Linked DNA regions of Homo sapiens: all the other regions are linked to region 1. Evidence: promoter capture Hi-C in 16 types of primary human blood cells and fetal thymus (Javierre and others, 2016). All regions are on one chromosome and are shown on one strand. Each heading gives the region's core, a stretch centred on a gene start or on the middle of the fragment in contact. The rest is flanking DNA. Distances are from core to core; before and after follow the strand shown. Region 1 holds the start of ZNF655 (zinc finger protein 655). Region 2 overlaps CYP3A43 (cytochrome P450 family 3 subfamily A member 43). Region 3 holds the start of AZGP1 (alpha-2-glycoprotein 1, zinc-binding). Region 4 holds the start of ZSCAN21 (zinc finger and SCAN domain containing 21). Region 5 overlaps TRIM4 (tripartite motif containing 4).

Evidence for each region. Contacts are between HindIII fragments. The CHiCAGO score rates a contact against its expected background, and 5 or more counts as called.
Region 2: a contact is called between a fragment that was not itself captured here and the fragment with the promoter of ZNF655 in region 1, in 1 of 17 cell types (erythroblasts). The highest score is 6.4, in erythroblasts.
Region 3: a contact is called between the fragment with the promoter of AZGP1 here and the fragment with the promoter of ZNF655 in region 1, in 1 of 17 cell types (M2 macrophages). The highest score is 5.2, in M2 macrophages.
Region 4: the fragment with the promoter of ZSCAN21 here is called in contact with the fragment with the promoter of ZNF655 in region 1 in 1 of 17 cell types (M1 macrophages); the score reaches 7.6 in M1 macrophages.
Region 5: a fragment that was not itself captured here is called in contact with the fragment with the promoter of ZNF655 in region 1 in 1 of 17 cell types (erythroblasts); the score reaches 7.0 in erythroblasts.

What each region holds. Positions count from the first base shown.
Region 1 is chr7:99,557,236-99,559,942 of GRCh38, reverse strand. It overlaps ZNF655 (zinc finger protein 655), which reads right to left and starts at 1,301. Exons shown (of 3, transcript NM_138494.3): 1 at 1,156-1,301. It also overlaps a transcript of FAM200A not described here. RefSeq lists enhancers at 1,227-1,496, 1,527-1,656. The HindIII fragment of the contact is 4,019 bases long and covers 1-2,707 here.
Region 2 is chr7:99,839,052-99,841,751 of GRCh38, reverse strand. It overlaps CYP3A43 (cytochrome P450 family 3 subfamily A member 43), which reads right to left. Exons shown (of 13, transcript NM_057095.3): 3 at 2,580-2,632. Among named protein-coding and RNA genes, the nearest start is that of CYP3A43, 12 kb to the right of the region's middle. The HindIII fragment of the contact is 576 bases long and covers 1,001-1,576 here.
Region 3 is chr7:99,974,671-99,977,374 of GRCh38, reverse strand. It overlaps AZGP1 (alpha-2-glycoprotein 1, zinc-binding), which reads left to right and starts at 1,344. Exons shown (of 4, transcript NM_001185.4): 1 at 1,344-1,430. The coding sequence starts at 1,355. The HindIII fragment of the contact is 13,516 bases long and covers 1-2,696 here.
Region 4 is chr7:100,048,396-100,051,199 of GRCh38, reverse strand. ZSCAN21 (zinc finger and SCAN domain containing 21) reads right to left here and starts at 1,426. Exons shown (of 4, transcript NM_145914.3): 1 at 1,359-1,426. RefSeq lists an enhancer at 905-1,524. The HindIII fragment of the contact is 10,625 bases long and covers 1-2,289 here.
Region 5 is chr7:99,899,798-99,902,497 of GRCh38, reverse strand. The region is part of intron 5 of TRIM4 (tripartite motif containing 4); the gene reads left to right. Among named protein-coding and RNA genes, the nearest start is that of TRIM4, 18 kb to the left of the region's middle. The HindIII fragment of the contact is 1,114 bases long and covers 727-1,840 here.

The DNA of each region.
Region 1 (2,707 bases), core at 52-2,551:
AAAATATTTAAAATTGGCCACGTGCGGTGGCTCAAGCCTGTAATCCCAACAGTTTGGGAGGCACAGACGGGTGGATCCCTTAAGCTCAGGAGTTCCAGACCGTCCTGGACAACATGGTGAAACCCCGTCCCTACAAAAAAAAAAAAAAAAAAAAAAATTAGGTGGCCCAGGCCTGTAGTTCCAGCTACTCCAAAGGCCAAGGCAGGAGAATCGCTTGAGCTTGGGAGGTAGAGGCTGCAGTGAGCTATGACTGCGCCACTGCATTCCAGCCTGTATGACAGCGTGACAGCCCACCTCAAATAAACAAAACAAAATATTTAAAATTTACAATCGTCTTTGGAGGCTCAAGTTGGTGCCCAGAGAAAAATGCTAGTTATGATTGCTCATTTTATTTTAATTTTGTTTTAGCAGAGATGGGAGTCTCGCTATGTTGCCCAGGCTGGACTCGAACGCCTGGCCTCAAGCGATCCTCCCACTTCGGCCTCCCAAAGTGCGGGGATTACGGCGTGAACCACCGTGACAGGCCCGCGTTTACGTAAATAAACTCATTTAAATAAATAAAACAGCAGGCCCCCTAGGAAATGTCTTGGTAACACCGTCAGCCCACTCCGATTTACTACACGGGCTTGGCGAATAAAACTCCACTTTTGGGGTCAGGCCCTTCGCTAACTCAGACCAGCTAGACCGGCCTTTTCCCGGAATCCTGAGAGCAACGCAGGTAAGAGCTGCGGTTCGAACAGGTTTGAGCGGCGTCCTTCAGGCCCAAGGACGCATGAGGGTGCCGTCCCCCTCCCACCACCCTCGCCCTGGGCCCCTGCCCGGCTCCCAGCTCGGTCCTCAGAAGGCCTTGCCCGGCGCTGCCCTCCTCCCACTTCCCTTTTAGGCCAAGGCAAAGTCCCAAAAGGACCAGTGAGGACATACAGACCAGCTCGCACCAGGGCACGGTCGCCGGCTCCTGACGGCGGGGCCCTCGGTCCGCGAGGTGAATGAACCAGGGCTGAAGAGAAACAGGCCCTCCTCGCACCCGGGCCTCCGCGCACTCTCGGGGAAGCGAACTACCGTCGGCCGCGGCCGGACGCCGCCTCCTTCTACTCCCGTGAAGGCAAAACAAGCTGCCACCCCGCTGCGACCCCAAAACGGCTTCCGGGTACTCACCGAGGGGAGGGGCGGGCCTGGCCGCTGTCCTGTCACCTACACACTCGCGCTCGGGGCCACCACAGCCTCTCCCGGGCCGCTGTAGACAGCCCCGAGGCCGGCGCTTCTCGGTGGCACTTCCGGCGACGGAGTGCAGGGTCCCGAATGAGGGCCCCCCCTCCTCCGCCCAGGCATGAGGGTCCCGGATGTGGGTGAGAGCCCCGGATGAGGGTCCCGGATGTGAGTGAGGGCCCCGGATGTGAGTGACGGCCCCGGATGAGGAACTCGGAGGAGGAGCTGGGCCCGCGCGTCCATGATTCGAAGGCTCGTTTTCGCAGCTTTTCCACGTCTTTTTCCGGTCCCACTGCCCTCCATGCTAACTCACTGGGCGTCTCTAGCCGTTATACCAACAATGACTGCGACCAGTGTTGGGAAAGCGCCCCCTGGGCCCCTCCCTGACGCCAGCCCATCCTTGAGACTCCCTGCAAGGAGGCGGCCCGACCCAGTGGGTGCGTGTCGTGGGGTGAGGAGGAATGGCCGACCTAATGGTCCCGCTTCCGTGAGTAGCACAGGGGTGCCTGCTCAGAGTGTAGTACAACGCTGACAAGTAGAAGGCGAGGATTGCGGGGCCTGGGTGAGATGGGACCCACTAAGTTGTGGGATCGAAATCTCAGTAGGTCCTTGGGGAAAGCGGGGACGGGAGGGGAGATGAGCAGATTGGAATAGAACCGAGAGAGACGGAGGAAACTGACAGTTGCGTCCCTGGTGGGAAGACTAAAATCTATGCAGAAACAGGGATAGGCAAAAGCATTGTGCACAAGCGGGACAGGCAGAGCGCCGGGACAGAAACCCTTAGGACATTCTGACACCTTGCTGAACCTGGATCCTTACAGAATATGTCTTGTAGGTGAAGCTAGATCTGCAAGGCATAGGCAAGCCTCTTAGAGAATCAGAAAAGTGATTTGGAAGGAACTTCAGCTGTTACTACTTTGTTTAAGCAAATCAAATGCTGTTCTTTAATGTTACTGGACGTTTCAAATTAAACACAAGAAAACCTGAAGTGTGGCATTTTATATATTTTTTCAAAATGTATCAGCTTCTTGGAGATTCTGATATTCCTTTCCTCTCTTTATCCCTAAGTATCATTTATCCAACCTAAATTCATACTAGGACACAATCTCTCTAGTCTGCAGTGCCCGTCACAGTGGAGTCAGGATCGGAGAAAGAAAATGCACTGCTTAGTCCATTTCATGCTGGACAGCTCCAATTAGAAACTTTTCCTTGTGTTGAACAGAAATACACCCCTGGTGATGTCTATCTATTGTTCCTGTTGACAGGTCCCCAGGACAATAGATGACACAGTACTTCTTCCTCTTCATAACGGCCATTTTAATATCCTAGGAGAGCTAAAGGTTTGGAGTTCTTCCTGAGTTGCCATTTCCCCACCTAGAACCCTTCACAGGTTGTACCTATTAGCAATGTGATGGGAAACCATTTCAGCAGCAAAGGTGAGTGAGCTATGGCAGTGAGGCACATCGCGTCCAAGTTTTAGCTGACTCAGGCAATTGGCTCC
Region 2 (2,700 bases), core at 39-2,538, 280 kb before region 1:
CTGCACCAACCTGGGTAACAGAGTGAGACTCCATCTCAATTAAAAAAAATGTGTAGGCCGGGTGCAGTGGCTCATGCCTGTAATACCAGCACTTTGGGAGGCCAAGGCGGGCAGATCACCTGAGGTCAGGAGTTTGAGACCAGCTGGCAAACATGGGGAAACCCTGTCTCTACTAAAAATACAAAAATTAGCTGGGCATGGTAGTGAGTGCCTATAATCCCAGCTACTCAGGAGGCTGAGGCAGGGGAATTGCTTGACCCTGGGAGGTGGAAGTTTTAGTAAGCCGAGATCACCCCATTGCACTCCAGCCTGGGTGACAAGAGCAAGACTCCATCTCAAAAAAAGAAAAGTGTCAAAGAAATATATTTTGAGTTGCATATTGATTTCTCTTAACTGGCTGGGGTTTCTAGAGGGGAAAATTGACATTTTGTAGCTGTGGGCATTCCAGTAAACATTAGAGGGGGCCACGAATTGGTAAAACTTAGTGGAAGGTAGATTGAAACTCAAAACAGAAAGTTATCACACAATTTACATAGGGTCAAGATCTCCAAGCATAAGGGGAAGTTATAGCTAGCTGACAATAAACCTTGACCCTCAGCTACCAAATTCCAAAATGAAAAGCCACATCGGCTCCTTATGTGGAGACGGATCTCAAGCTAAAAACTGTTCATCATTATGGAAGCAGAAAACTCACCTTCCTTGTTGGAAGTAAGTAAAAACTCCCAGAAAGGAGCTCTATGGCAGAAGAAAATTCAGGTCTCAAGCAACATTTTATGGGAGATCAAGGATCTCTAGAAGGAGAAGCTCCCAGACCTCAGCACATGAGCCAATTGGTTAGAGTGATAAAAAGCTCTAGCTGGTTCTATCACACTGATGGGAAAATTTCTGCAGGCTGAGGGCCAAACTGCCCTCAGTGAATCCCATTGTGGTTACCAAGGTGTTAACCAAAAAGTGACTGAGGCAGGTGTCTTGATTGATAGAGGTTTATTGAGTCAAAGCTTGAGGGGACACCTGGAAACACATGAGCCACAGGGGTAGCTGCGACCTGTGTTTTTCCAAAGAGGGTTTTGGGAACTTCCGAATTTAAAGAGGAAAGAACCAGCAGGAAGGAAAAAAGGGGGGAAAGAGTAGGCAGTGTGGCAAATGATTACATTTGTGTAAGGCACCAATTAGCTCTCATCGAACCTGCACTTTACATGTGAAAAGACAGAGTAGAGGAAAAAATCAATTATGCATTCATGTTGTACTCAGAAAATCTACATTTTACATGAGATATACATGTGAAAAGAAAGAGTAGAGGAAAAGTCAGTTACATATTCATCTCAAGGTAGGTGGAGGGATGATTTCTGGTCTTGTCCTTATTCTGTACCTGTGATAAGCTGGTAATTTACATGATCAAGGTGTGAGTCAACAGAACTCAATGACAGGGCTGGTTTATAGGGCAGATGTATAGAATTCCATGTGAGCAACTTGTGAGGGAAACCATCCAGAAAGATATGTAGCCTTCTATTGATATAGGAGCCAGAAAAAAATTATTTAGGCAGATAGTGAGGGCAAAGGGGTCCTCAGCAAAGCTTCCCTTTTAACAAAAAGCAGCCCCCCAAATCATTTCTTTTCTAACAAAGAGCAGCCTGAAAAAATCAAGCTGCAGACATCGATAAGCAAGCTGGAAGCTTGCACGGGTAAATGCTGGCAGCTGTGCCAATAGAAAAGGGCTACCTTGGAAGCTGGTTATGTTCAACATGGAGGCCCCATCTTCCCTTATCTTTGTCACCCCATTTACAGTAAAAAAAGCAGGCAACATGGTGCCAGCCAGGAAGAGAACCATCTGCATAATAAAAGATTAGGGTGGGGCAGCCAACTTCTTCACATGTTATGCAAACAGTACACCTAGTCCTAACCAGTTTTTTATGTGCTATGCAAATGACACACCTGGTCCAACCAATCTTTCATGCCCTATGTAAATCAGACACTGCCTCCTCAAGCTCATCTATAAAACCTCCTGCACTTTACCGCAGGTCAGAAGACCCACTGGGGGCCCCCTCTCTCGGCAGGAGAGAGCTTTTCTCTTTCTTTCACCTATCCAACCTCTGCTCTTAACCTTATTCTTTGTGCGTCCACTATAGGGAGACCCCCTATATCTGTGGGACAACAAACCTCGGGTATTACCCCAGACGAGTGATGCCACATTGCTATTGTTGTGGGAATGTGGCTTATGTATGAAGCTATTACCCAGGGTTGTGAAATTACAGCTATCTGTCTGGGGAAAAAAGGAAGGCAGTAAGGTATGACTTAATTCTCAAGCTCGATTTTCCCTTTGTCATAGTGAGTTTAGGGTCTCAAAGATTTTATTTTTGTTCACATACTGAATATGCATGGAGTTTCCTATGACACGCATATTCCCCTTGCAATGCTCAATTCCCAGATCATCTTTTTCTTTTAGATAGCCTCTCTCTGTTTGTTACTTAGGTTGACAATAGCATTATCCAAACAAAATCTGGGCTGAGATTGTTCTCTCTGCAGTAAAATAACTCAGCATAGCAACAGCTCTATCCAATGCAAGTTTCCAGAATACTCACCCCCACATTTCTCCGTATTTTTCATTACATTCTCTGTCAAAATTCCAAAGACCCTGGCAGAAGAAACAAAATACAATTCAAGTATTATTTCGAATGTACTGAACGCTACATTTAACCAGGG
Region 3 (2,704 bases), core at 95-2,594, 420 kb before region 1:
GTCTCAGCCTGTATGACTGCCATCCATCCTCTACATAATCTAACAAATAATTAAACTCTGAGCATGAGGTATTTTTGCTGGAGCAATCTTGCCAATAATGCCCTTTTGGAGCCCAATCAATAACAATACCTGCGGCTAGACTTTGGAGCACAACGGCCTTAGGAGCATTACAATTATTCCATAAAATTGAAGTCACTATAAAAGGTCCCTTTGTAGGTTTCTTTAACCAAAAGAGAGGCTGGGCACAGTTGCTCACACTAGTAAACCCAGCACTTTGGGAGACCGAGGCGGGCAGATCACGAGGTCAGGAGTTCAAAACCAGCTTGGCCAACATGGTGAAACCCCTGCCTCAGCTTCCTGAGTGCTGGGATTATAGGCATGTGCCACCACGCGCAGCTAATTCTTGTATTTTTTCAGTAGAGACGAGGTTTCATCATGTTGCCCAGGCTGGTCTCGAGTACCTGACCTCAACCTGAGGTGATCCAACCACCTCAGCCTCCCAAAGTGCTGGGATTACAAGCATGAGTCACCGCACCCGGGCCCCAGTCACTTTAGAATAGCATGTTGCTTTGTATTCGGAGGGTCTCTCTGCAAATAGCCCATCAACACTGAGCGTGCCTGGAAAGACCTGGTTTTCAAATAACTGGCTTCGTCTGTGTAAAACGAGTCTTGTTGTATGCATTAAAAATTATCTTGGCTGGGCGTGGTGGCTCACGCCTTTAATCCCAGCATTTTGGGAGGCTCGTTCTGTTGCCAGGGAGGCTGCAAAAGGAGGATGCGGCTATTTCTGCTTCCATCATGGAAGGCTGGGATTCCACAGGCACAGAAAGGAAGGAGGGAGAGATGGGAATGTGACTGTCCTCCAGACACAGCCTCTGGCAGGATCGGATGTGGGAGAGTGAGGGTCCCACCCCAGCTGGGGTCTACCCAGGTCCATGTCTTGGACATGTTGAGAGTTTTTCTGGAAGGCAGGGATACAGTGTGGTCCAAAAACACACAAATGCCCCTACTGGCCCAGGGGTTGTCACAATAGACTGGAAGGGTGACACATCCCAGGCGCTTGCCACCCATCACACGCACCTCCTACCCACTGGCATCCTTCCACCCCAGGCACACACAAAGCCTCAGTCCAGAGATCAACTCTGGACTCAGCTCTGAATTTGCATATCCTGTGTGTAGATTCATTCTTCATAACCTCTGCCCAGCCTAGCTTGTGTATCATTTTTTTTTCTCTATTAGGGGAGGAGCCCGTCCTGGCACTCCCATTGGCCTGTAGATTCACCTCCCCTGGGCAGGGCCCCAGGACCCAGGATAATATCTGTGCCTCCTGCCCAGAACCCTCCAAGCAGACACAATGGTAAGAATGGTGCCTGTCCTGCTGTCTCTGCTGCTGCTTCTGGGTCCTGCTGTCCCCCAGGAGAACCAAGATGGTGAGTGGGGAAAGCAAGGGATGGGTGCTGGAGAGGACTGGAAGGAGGTGAGGAACAGGACATGTGGCTGGGAGACAGGCTGGATGCAGCTGGGATACCCTGGCATACGGCAGGAATGGGTGCCCAAGGCTGTCAACTCCCTCAGCTCACACACTTCCAGGAGCATTCAGGGAGCCTCTGCGCTGGCCCGAAATAAGACCTTCAGGAATCTGAATCTAAAACCCCTAGTTTACAGTGAAAACAAAGACTCCAAAGACCAAGCGACCTGCTTGGGGTAGACAGTCAGGACGGAGTAGGAACCATATGCCTGGAGCTGCTTCTGCTCCTGTTCCTTCCCTCCTTCCGATGGCTGGGTACACCTGCCTGACGCTGAGGGAAAGAGAGAGCAGCCCCAAGGGGAAAGTGGGAAGGCAGGTTGGCTGGAGGGATGGTGCTAGAAGGAAACCCGTGCCCAAATCCCACACTCAGACACCACTGCAGTGGGTCTGGAAGGCGAGTGGCTGGAAGAGAAGAGAGTGGGAGCTCCGGGAGATCAAGAGTCACTCCTAGGATAAGGGAAGGAGGCTGTTTGTGGCATGAGAATGTGCAGGATAAAGACATGGAAGCGAATGGCTTCTCAGTTGTGTGAGTTTAAAATTCATGACATTTACAAATTGTCAGAAAAGGTGTTATATGTTTGTTATATAACAATCACTTTGGAATGTTAATCTGATTCTGTGCCAAAATCTGAATTACTCAGGGTTCTCCAGAGAAACAGAACTAATAGGTGGTACACATATACATATATATGTACGTACACATACATACATACACTGTATACACATGGATACACACACACATAGGAAGAGATTTACATATATGTATACAAAAGAGAGAGAGAGTAGAGATTTATTTTAAGAAATTGACTCACACTATTGGGAGGAGTAACAAGTCCTAAATCTTCAGAGCCGGCCAGCAGGCTGGAGACCCAGGGAAGAGTTGATGTCTTAGTCTTGATTCCAAGGGCAGACTGTAGGCAGAATTCTTTCCTCTTTAGGGGACATCTGAGGCTTTTTCTCTTAAGGCCTTCAACTGATTGGATGAAGCCCACCACTATGGAGAGTAATCCACTTTACTCAAGGTCTACTGATTTTTTTGTAAATTAAAAAAAAAACTGTGGGTGCATAGTATGTGTATATATTTATGGGGTACATGAGAGGTTTTGATTCAGGCATGCAATGTGAAATAATCACATCATCAAAAATGAGGTATCCATCCCTTCAAGCTTTTATCGT
Region 4 (2,804 bases), core at 177-2,676, 490 kb before region 1:
TTTTTTTTTTTTTTTTTTTTTGAGACGTAGTTTCACTCTTGTTTCCCAGGCTGGAGTGCAATGGCGCGATCTCGGCTCACCGCAACCTCTGCCTCCCAGGTTCAAGCGATTCTCCTGCCTCAGCCTCCTTACAGGCATGTGCCACCACGCCCGCCTAATTTTGTATTTGTAGTAGAGACGGGGTTTCTCCATGTTGGTCAGGCTGGTCTCGAACTCCCGACCTCAGGTGATGCACTCGCCTCGGCCTCCCAAAGTGCTGGATTACAGGCATGAGCCACCGCGCCCGGCCACACAAATTCTTTAACCTGAATCAAATTCCGCATCATTTCAAAAATCCTAGGTTAGTCCAAGACCAATACTCACTTTCTCCATAGCAGCCTTCCAACACTTGAAAACAATTATCTTGCCTCTTAATTCTTTTCCTCTCCACAGCTCAACTGTTCCTTAGATTTCGTGGGTTTCCAAGTACCTCACCCATCAAATCAACGTTCTTTTTTTTTGTGAGACCAAGTGTTGCTCTGTCGCCCAGGCTGGAGTGCAGTGGCGTGATCTCGGTTCAGTGCAACCTCCACCTGGTGGGTTCAAGCGATTCTCCTGCCTCAGCCTCCTGAGTAGCTGGGATTACAGGCGCGCTCCACCACACCCAGCTAATTTTTGTATTTTTCGTGGGGACAGGGTTTGGCCAGGCTGGTCTCGAACTCCTGACCTCAAGTGATCCGCCGGCCTCGGCCTCCCGAACTGCTGGGATTACAGGCGTGAGCCACCGCGCCTGGCCCAAATCAACTTTGTCCTGACACTCTTTTATTTATACATGGTTCTTTAAGACTGTTTTTCTAAACCATGAGCAGATCCCTATTCTGTGTGTGTGTTCTAGCCCGAACAAAGCCCGAGGGGACTATTTCTTCCCTTGGATTTGATTCTACCCAACACTTCTAATGAGGTTCGGCTTCCCACAGGTTTCCAACACCTTGGGCGTATTGCCATCAATGAGCCTTGCGTTCGGACCTCCAGTTCAGAGAAAGGGAAAAAAGGCGGCCACGGTCAGACTGATAGACGGCTTGGCTTGGGGAACGCACAAAAAAAACTATTCTGGAACGCGAAAGAACTTCCAAAACATCTGTTCTTCCAGCTTTCATTTGTTAAAGCCCCAAGTGGAAGAAAAGGCTTTCCAGGCAGCCAGCGCCCCCACCAGCTGGTCCTGGGCGGGGACGAGGAGCTCCTCCCCACAGCCCTGCTAGGACCGGTCTAGGTGGGGTCCTCGGAAGCCACAGCTGCTAAACCCACTCCTCCCTCCCCAGACCATTCAGCCACGGCTCCCTCTCCTGTCCGCCTCGCTAACCCGCGACCAGCAGGCTCACCATGAATCAGAGCCGCTCCGGGTACCGGGAGACCGCACCGCGTACCTCGGGACCGCGCACCCGGAAGTGCGTCATAGCCCCGCCCCCGCGGAAAAGTAGTGCGGGGCCGTAGCGGCCCCTCTAGAAATTCGGGAGGTCCTCTCTGTGTCTCTGGCCCTTGGGACATCAGGGAGGAGTTGAGTCCACCCCGAAAATGAAAAGCCAGGGACTCTTTCTGTTTTTACCGAAGACGGTCAGACCAGATGAAGGCTGCGGCGGTTCTCTCACCCAACCCCGACGCCCTGGGGCAGGGAGGGCATGGGCTGAGGCAGCCACCTCGGTCACCCTCGTGGACTTCAGAGCCCAAGGTCCCTGAGTACCCTTGGGATAAGCACAGGGTTCCTTGTCCATAAACCTGGATCGAGGTCACTGGATACCCTTGGGCCCAGCTCCTCGGTCCAGGTTTATGGACATGGAACGCTGTGCTTGGCCCGTGAAGCCAGAGATTGAGTTAATACTTCGTTGATGAAAACAATCAAACTGTAAAATATTTGAAGACATTTATTTTGAGACAAATATGAGTGACCAATGGCCCAAGGTACAGTCTCAAGAGGTCCTAAGAACATGTACCTATGATGGTCGGGCTACAGCTTGGGTTTATACAATTTAGGGAGACATAAGACACCAATCAAGACATGTAAGATGAACATTGGTTCTGTGGGAAAGGCAGGACAATTCCAAGCGGGGATGTTCCAAGTCATAGGTGAACTCAAGGATCTTCTAATGGGCAACTGGCTGAAAGTTATTGTCTAAAGACCTATAATCAATAGAAAGGAATGTCTGGGATGACTAAGGCAGGGGTCCCCAACCCTTGGGGCACAGACAGATACCAGTCCATGGCCTGTTAGGAACTGGGCCGTTACTGCAGGAGGTGAGCTGCAGGAGCAAAGCTTCACCTGTATCTACAGCCACTCCCCATTGCTCTAATTACTGCCTGAGCTCCGCCTCCTGTCAGATCAGCCATAGCATTAGATTCTTACAGGAGCACAAACCCTATTGTGGACAGTGCATGCGAGGGATCTAGGTTGTGCACTCTTTATGAGAATCTAATACCTGATGATCTGTCGCTGTCTCCCATAATTCCCCAATGGAACCCTCTAATTACAGGAAAACAAACTCAGGGCTCCCACTAATTCTATGTTATGATGAGTTGTACAATTATTTCATGATATATTACAATGTAATAATAATAGAAATAAAGTACACAATAAATGTAATGTGCTTGAATCATCCTGAAACCACGAAACCATCCATCCCCCTCCTGCCATCCATGGAAAAAACTGTCTTCCACAAAACTGGTTCCTGGTGCCAAAAAAGGTTGGGGACCGCTGAACTAAGGGGTTGTGGAGACCAGGGTTCCCATTATGCAGATGGAGCCTCCAGGCAGCCGGCTTCAGAAAGAACAGA
Region 5 (2,700 bases), core at 34-2,533, 340 kb before region 1:
AGGCAGGCGGATCATTTGAGGTCAGGAGTTCGAGACCAGCCTGGCCAACATGGTGAAACCCTGTCTCTACTAAAATACAAAAATTAGCTGAGCATAGTGGTGTGCACCTGTAATCCCAGCTACTCGGGAGGCTGAGGCAGGAGAATCGCTTGAACCTGGGAGGTGGAGGTTGCAGTGAGCTGAGATTGTATCCACTGCACTCCAGACTGGGCGATAGAGTGAGACTCTGTCTCAAAAAACAAACAAACTAAAAAGAACCATGTTGTGGGTGTTCACTTCTAGCCAAAATGGAGTAAATAAACGAGTTGTTTTCTTGTCTGCAGCAACTAAAATAAAAACACAAAAACAAAACAGGCACAATATGTGAAACAACCGTTTTCAAAGCACCAGACGTCAGGCAGTGAAGGACGGTGATTCCTGAGAAATGTGAAACAAATGAGGTCAGCCTATGATTGCCCTACCCTCTGCCTGAGGGAGTTTCCAGACCATGTAAGGCTGAGGTAACTGAGGTAGAGCCAGGGAGACTTGCTGAGTTGAGGAATAGACCTGGGAGTTCACGGAGAACAAAGTAGTGAGAGTTCGCAAAGTACTGGGCAGTATCCTGGAGCGGAGAGAGCCGGACACAGAGAGAACCCTCGCCATCTATGGAGGAGCTTCCTAGTTGTTTGGCAGAGTTCTGATCAGCACATGCCTGTGAAAATCTACTCAAGGCTGGAGATAGAAGCTTCTAAAACGATTAGAGGGAACGGTTCCTGGTGCTCACACAGGGCCAGGAACAGTGCCAGTTCCTATCAGCCACACCAGAAAACTCGTAGTTCACGGGCACTGAGTAGCGTACTCAGGAAAATCTTGCCTCATTAGCAGAAAATATTTAGCCCTTGACTGGGTGCTGCTCCACACCCACCTTACAAATCATGAAAGCAAGACCCAAAGGGGTCAAACTCTTTCCAACTAACTTAACTGCATCCCAGGATAAAGCCCTAGAAAATTGGTAGAAATAAACAAAAAAAGAGCACCTAACAATATAAATTCACAATGTCTGGCATCCAGTCAAATATGCATGCAAAAAGATAGGAAAGCAGTGACCCATAATGGAGGAAAATAATCAACTGAAACTGACCTAGAATTGACACAGATGTTAGAATAAGCATGGAAGGACTTTAAAACATTTATTATGAGTGTATTCTGTAAAGAGGTACATAGAGACCAGATCAAAGTTTTAAAGATGAAAAATGTGATTAAGGCGAAGAATGCACTGGATGGGATTAATAGTTGATTAAATATTACAAAAGAAAAAATTGGTGAACTTGAAGACAGAGCAATGGAAACTACAAAAAAATGAAACATACACAGAATAAAACAATTTACAAAAACACAAAGAGCATCAGTGACCTGTGGGACAACTTTATGCAGCCTTATTATCTATGGTGATTGGCGTCCCTGAAAGAGAGGAGTGGGGAGGGAGATGGAATAGGAAAAATACTTGAAGACATAATGGCCAAAGATTTTCTGAATATAATAAAAACTAAGTCCACAGATCCAAGATGCTCAACAAACCCTGAGTATGAGAAATATGAAGAAAAATATGCCAAGGCTCATCATAACTTGCTGGAAACCAGTGTTAAAAAGAAAATCTTAAATGCAACCAGGGGAGAGGATAGTTACTTGCAGTGGAACAAAGACGAAGTTGACATTACACTTCTCATTGGAAACAATGCCAGTAAGCAAACTCTTTAAAGTCCTGAAAGAAAAAAACTGTTAACCTAGAGTTCTAGAACTGGCAAAAAATATCCTTCAAAAACAAAGGTGAAATAAATAAGTTTGGAGGTAAACTAAAGCTTAAAAGAAAGAGTTTACAGCAGACTGACACTTCAAGAAAGGAAGTCTTAAAGGAAGTCCTTCAGACAGAAGGAAAATGCCAGATGGAAATCTCTCTACACAAAGGAATAAAAGAGCACCAGAAATGGTAATGACACGAATAAATATATATTATTGTCATTATTTATTCCTTTAAAAAGGAATTGCGATGGTAAGTTTATACATCAACTTGACTGGGCCACAGAGTGCCCAGATATTGGTCAAAAATTATTTTGGGTGTTTTTTTGAGGGTGATTTTGGATAAGATTAACATTTAAGTCAGTAAGCCTGTGTAGACTGCCCTTCATAATGTGGGTGGGCCTCATCTAATCAGTTGAAGGCTTGAATAGAAAAAAAAGGCTTGACCTTTCTGATGGATTTCTAAAGCATACTACCTTGGCCTTCACTGCAGCATTGGCTCTTCCTGCCTAATGGCCTTCCAACTAGAACGCTGGCTCTATCTGGGTCTTGAGCCTGCCAACTCACACAGCAGATTCGGACTTGTCAGTAGCAATAATCACACAAGCCAGTTCCTTATATTAAATCTTATACACTGGCTGGGTGTGGTGGCTCACATCTGTAATCCCAATTCTTTGGGAGGCTGAGTTAGGAGGATTGCTTGAGGCCAGGAGTTTGAGGCCAGCCTGGGCAACATAGTGAGACCCTGTCTCTACAAAAAATAAAATAATTAGTGTGCTGGTGTGTGCCTGTAGTCCCAGTTACTTGGGAGGCCACGGCGGGAGGATGGCTTAAGCCCAGGAGGTTGAGGCCGCAGTGAGCTGTGATTGCACCACTGCACTCCAGCATGGGCAACAGCGAGACCCCATCTCAAAAGAAAACCCA